Regions from separate parts of the Homo sapiens genome. Here region 2 is linked to region 1. The links are contacts of gene promoters, found by promoter capture Hi-C in human tissues and cell types (Jung and others, 2019). All regions are on one chromosome and are shown on one strand. The core of a region is centred on a gene start or on the middle of the fragment in contact, and the rest is flanking DNA. Distances in the headings are between cores, read along the strand shown. Region 1 holds the start of BARHL2 (BarH like homeobox 2). Region 2 has its middle 22 kb from the start of SNORD3G.

Region 1 (2,790 bases), core at 180-2,679:
TGGCCAGGCATTTTTTCCAGCTGGAGACCAGGCTGGTTCCCCAGCTTGGAGCCTCAGGCCTCGTCCTCCCCGAGAGCGCCTGGTGGACGCGGACCCGGCTGTGTCCCTCTCAGGGATCCGCCTCCCGCCGGGCTGAGCCCGAGCGCCTGGGTTCGTCGGGCGAGAAATCAGAGCCCAGAGCCGACCCGCCCGCTTATGCAAGGCTCCGGCGCCTGAAGTGACACACTTTTCTGTGGATTCCTTCAGGGATCTCCTTCCTCCGCTCTTAATGTCTTCGGACTATTCCCGCGCGCGTTTGGGGAGGCTGCGAGGGCCGCCGCGCTGGAGCCTAAAGGTAAGTCCCTTCCCGTCCTCTTCTCTCTCTCTTCTGACTTAAGAAAACGGGCGAATCCTTGCTACTTTTTTTTTTCTTTCTCCCCTTTGGTTCCCTTTCTCTGGTCTCCCTCTGATCTCTTCCTCCCTCTCCCTTTGCCTCGCACTCGTGATTGTGGACACCGGGACCACTGGACTCGGAGTTCGGCTCAGGGCTGCGGGCTCAGGGATGTGCGGGTTCTCAAAAGAGCAGCGGAGTCCGAGCCGAGTCCGCTGACGGGCTCACGAGCGCTGCGCCTATTGGCTCCCTGGCACGTCGGCGTCCCTCGCTCGCGCGGGCGCGGCCAATAGGGGCGCGGGGCCGGACGCGCGGCCTCGGTGGCGGGGGCGCGGGCCCGGCGCGGCGCGGCGCGGGGAGCGGCGGTAGTGGCCGTGACGTCACGGGAGGGGGTCGGCGCCGCCCGCCAGCAGCCGGATTACAAGCGAACGCGCCCGGCAGCGGCCGGAGTCGCCCGGCATCGCGTCTCCGCCGCTTCCTCCTTCTGTGCCTGCTCCTTCTCGTCGTCCTCCTCTTCCTCCTCCTCCTCGGGTTGCCGCAACCGCTGCGGCCGTGTCTGCCCCGCAACTTTCCAAGAAAGTTCAGAAACTCGGCTACGGGGCTGCCGAGTGGCGCGCGGCTGCCACCTCGGGAGCCGCGGGGGAGTTCCGAGGGCGCGCGGCCGCCCGGGCTTCGCGGTCGCTGCACCTGCCGCGTCCGCCGCCGCCACCGCTGCCGCCCGGTGCCAGGCTGTGGGCAGACCCCGGCAGCGGCGGCGGCGGCGGCTTTGGCGTAGCTTCCCGCCGCCTGCGCCTTCGCCTTCGCCTGCGCCTTCGCCTTCGCCTTCGCCTTCGCCTGGGTCCTCCGCGCCGCCACCGCCGCGCCACGTGCGCAGTCGTTCCTGGAGCGCAAGTTCCGAGTTTTCTCAGAAATTTTTTTAACTCCCCCCGCCCCCCGCATCTTTTTTCTTTCCACCCCTACTTTTTGCATAAAAGAAAAAAAGTTGTGTCGAAAGTATCCACAGATTGCCACTTCCCAATTACCCTTCCTTCTCTCCCCGCCCCACTTTTTTTTTTTTAAGCGGCGGCAACATTGTTTGGTGTTTATTTTGTTTTACGATCGATAGCTTTCTTCGCTGGTTCGGGGCGGCTGCTGAACGGCGGAGTGGCGTGGACCTCATGTAGCAATGACAATGGAAGGGGCCAGCGGGTCGAGTTTTGGAATAGACACGATTTTGTCCAGTGCCAGTTCAGGCAGCCCAGGCATGATGAATGGAGATTTCCGCCCGCTCGGTGAGGCCAGGACCGCGGATTTTAGGAGTCAGGCCACCCCATCTCCCTGTTCGGAGATTGATACCGTAGGGACGGCGCCTTCTTCTCCTATCTCAGTCACCATGGAGCCCCCGGAGCCGCATCTGGTAGCAGACGCGACCCAGCATCATCACCACCTCCACCACAGCCAGCAGCCGCCGCCGCCGGCCGCGGCCCCGACGCAAAGTTTGCAGCCTTTGCCCCAACAGCAGCAGCCGCTGCCGCCACAGCAGCCGCCGCCGCCGCCCCCCCAGCAGCTGGGCTCGGCCGCCTCGGCCCCCAGGACTTCCACGTCTTCTTTTTTAATTAAGGACATCTTGGGCGACAGCAAACCTCTGGCGGCATGTGCACCCTACAGCACCAGCGTATCCTCTCCCCACCACACCCCGAAGCAGGAGAGCAACGCAGTGCACGAGAGCTTCAGGCCAAAGCTCGAGCAGGAGGACAGCAAGACCAAACTCGACAAGCGGGAGGATTCCCAGAGCGACATCAAATGCCACGGTGAGTCCCGCCACCCGGCGCTCTCGGCCGTCTAGCTTGTCCTCCTGGTTCCCAATCTCCCCTTCAGCCTTCAGCAGATCTCTGCTGGGGAGCGATTCCAGGAGCTTCTCGGGCGACTGGGCGACGGTCAAAAGACTGCAGCTGAAGGGAGGCCTGGGCGTGCGATGTGGGGACTCCTCGAAGTTCTGTTTATTGTTCTACCCCACAACCTTCACGGCCATCCAGCTCCTTCCTTTGTTTTATTTAATTTTAATCTACTGGGGGTTGAGGGGCGGCGGAGGGCATCCGACAGGAAATACTTTTCGTTGATAAAAGGGATGGACTTGGGGTTTTTCTAGCCTAGACTTTGGGAATGGGAATGGGGGGAGGTAGGAGAGAGAAACCACTTAGCTAGCGTGGGTGTGATCACAACCTGGTGTTTATTCTTTAGTACAAGTGATTTCACCCCCCCCCCACTTTATTTTCTTAACATCATCACAGGAATTATCGGTTTTAATGGAGGAAAAATTTCTGAGTTCATGAACAGAGCAACTTTAAAAAAATTAGATTGTGGTTAGCCCGTAAAAATTTGTAATAAGTTTCTTAAAAGCACCCTTCTTACCCTATGGCCTCAACTGAGTATCTGTATCC
Region 2 (2,873 bases), core at 23-2,522, 37 kb after region 1:
TTATTTATTTTATTTTATTTTTTGTAAAGGTAGGAGTCTCACTATGTTGGCCAGGCTGATCTTGAACTCCTGGGCTCAAGTGATCCTCCTGCCACGACCTCCCAAAGTGTTGGGATTACAGGTGTGAACCACTAAGTCTGGCCTAAACTTTAAATATATATATATTTATATATATATATATATTTTTTACAAGTGACTTTCAGAGAAAAAAATAGCTGAGTACAATAGACTGTTTCACCTGGTGTTTCAATATTTAAAGTTTCCCGCCTTTCCTCTAGGCCAGATTATTACCTACATATTTTATGAATTTTTTGGAATTACTACATAACTGTCAGAGATGTATGGCTTGAATTACTATAACATATATCAGAGTGTCTGCTGAAGACATGCATACATTTAAAACAGTTATAAAAATAACACCAATATTAGCTTAACTTTTTCTTATTCTTGTCCCAAATCGTATTCTCATCTTTCCCTTACTTGAGGTAAACTTAATTTTACCATGTCACAAATTGGGTTTCTCATGAAACAGTCTCTGAGACTCTGAGATTTGTGTGTGGAAGTTTTTTTGGTGGGTGTTTTGGGAGACATACCTGTGAATGGTGAGGGAAGAATAATAGGGTTAAAGGAAAAGTTGAACTATGATTCAGTCACAATAGACATTTCAACTGATCTTACCTAGAGTCCTGAAACTGGGATGCCTGTGAAAAATTGTCTGTCTTAAAGCAAGGAGGCCAAGGCTATACCCCCACATTGGTTAGTCACTGGATGCAGACCTTCCCCATGGAGGAGAGAGAGCCCTAGGCAGGACAGCTTTCTTTGGCAGGTTTCTACTTGTGGCAAACATACTGCTCTAAACATCCATGTACAGGTTTTTGTGTGAACATAAGTTTTCATTTCTCTAGGATGAATACCCTAAAAATAGCTGAGTAAAACAGATGGATGTGGGATTGTTGGATCATATGGTAAGCGTAGGTTTAATTTGATAAGAAACTGCCAGGCTGTTTTCCAAAGTGGCTGTACCATACTGCATTCCTATCAGGAATGTATGAGAGTGCCAGTTGCTCTGTGTCCTTGTCAGCACTTGGTATTGTTTTTTGTTTTTTTTTTAGCCATTCTAGTAAGTGCATAATGGTATATCATTGTGGTTTTTAATTGTGTTTCCATAATGCCTAATGATATCATATTTCTTTTCATGTGTTTATTAGACATTCATTTTTGTCTTCATATCTTTTTCCCATTTTAAAAATGAAGTTGATTGTTTTCTTATTGCTGAGTTTTGTGAGTTTTTAAAGTGTATTCTGGAAACAAATCCTTTATCAGGTATGAGATTTACAAATATTTTTTCTCCAATCTATGATTTGTCTTCTCATTCTCTTTATGATTTTCTTCATAGAACAATATATTTTCATTTTGATGAAGTCCAATTTATTAATTATTCTTTTATAACGGATTGATCACTTGGTGTCTTATCAAAAGACTCTTTGATTAACCCAAGGTCATGAAGATGTTTATCTACATTTCTTTTCTGAGTTTCATATTTTTCTATTTTACACTTAAGTCTCTGACACATTTTGAGCTAACATTTGTGTGTGGTATTAGGTTAAGGCTGAAGTTCAATTTTTTGCATATGATATGCAGTTGTTCTAAGTATCGTTTGTTGAAAAGATCACCCTTTCTCCATTGAATTTCCTTTGCACCTTTATTAAAAATCAACCAACCATAATTATGTGGATGTATTTGTGAACTTTTTGTAATGTTGCATTGATCTATGTGTCTGTCCTTTCATCTTTTACCAGTCTTGATTGATATAGTTTTATCATACATTTTACTGTTGGGTAATGTTGAGTTATCCAGCTTGGTTCATTCTTTTTCAAAATTGTTTTAACTGTTGTAGTTCCTTTACTTTTCCATACAAATTTTAGAACAGGCTTATCTATATCTGCAAAATATCTCTCTGGGATTTTAATTGCTATTGTGTTAAATCTAGATTACTTTGGGGAAAATTGACATCTTATTTATGTTGAATATTCTAATCTATGGAAATGGAGTGCCTTTCTATTTACTTAGGCCTTCTTTCTGAGTATTTCATAGTTTTCAGCGTATAGATCTGTGTATGTTTTATTTTTTAGGGGGCGATTGTAAATGGTACTTTTTAAAAATTTCAGTTTTCAGTTGTTCATTGCTAGTATATAGAAAAATGATTGATTTTTGTATGTTGACCTTGTATTCTGTGATTTTGTGAATGTACTTGTTGCTTTAAGAGCATTTGGTAGATTCCTCAGTAGCAGTCCCCAACTGTTTTGGTACCAGGGAGTGGTTTCCTGGAAGACAATTTTTTCATGGATGGGGGTCGGGGGATGGTTTCTGGATGAAACTGTTCTATCTCAGATCATTAGGCATTAGTTAGATTTTCATAAGGAGCTTGCAACCCAGATCCCTGGTGTGCGCAGTTCACAATAGGGTTCCTGCTCCTATGAGAATCTAATGCCACCGCAGATCTGACAGGAGGCAGAGCTCAGGCAGTAATTTTCCCTTGCAGATGCTCACCTCCTGCTATAGAGCCCAGTTCTTAACAGGCCATGGATGGTACCAGTTAGTGGCCCTGGGGGTTGGGGTCCCTTGTTCCTTGTGATTTTCCATGTAGATACACATGTTATCTTGAATAGGGATAGTTTTATTTCTTGTTTTCTAATTTAAAAGTCTTTTATTTCTTTATCTTATCTTATTGTGCCTGTTAAGACTTCCAGAACAATATTGAATAGAAGTGGTGAGACTGGATATTCTTGCTTATTTCTCAGTCATACGAGGAAAGCTTTTGGTCATTCACCATTAGGTATGGTGTTAGGTTTTTTGTATATGCTCCCTATCAG

Evidence for each region. Contacts are between HindIII fragments. The study calls those that stand out against the background at their distance.
Region 2: a fragment that was not itself captured here is called in contact with the fragment with the promoter of BARHL2 in region 1 in 1 of the 25 tissues and cell types used here (neural progenitor cells).

The regions. Positions count from the first base shown.
Region 1 is chr1:90,715,941-90,718,730 of GRCh38, reverse strand. BARHL2 (BarH like homeobox 2) reads left to right here and starts at 1,429. Exons shown (of 3, transcript NM_020063.2): 1 at 1,429-2,160. The coding sequence starts at 1,536. The HindIII fragment of the contact is 10,681 bases long and covers 1-2,790 here.
Region 2 is chr1:90,678,406-90,681,278 of GRCh38, reverse strand. No RefSeq gene overlaps it. Among named protein-coding and RNA genes, the nearest start is that of SNORD3G, 22 kb to the right of the region's middle. The HindIII fragment of the contact is 8,683 bases long and covers 1-2,873 here.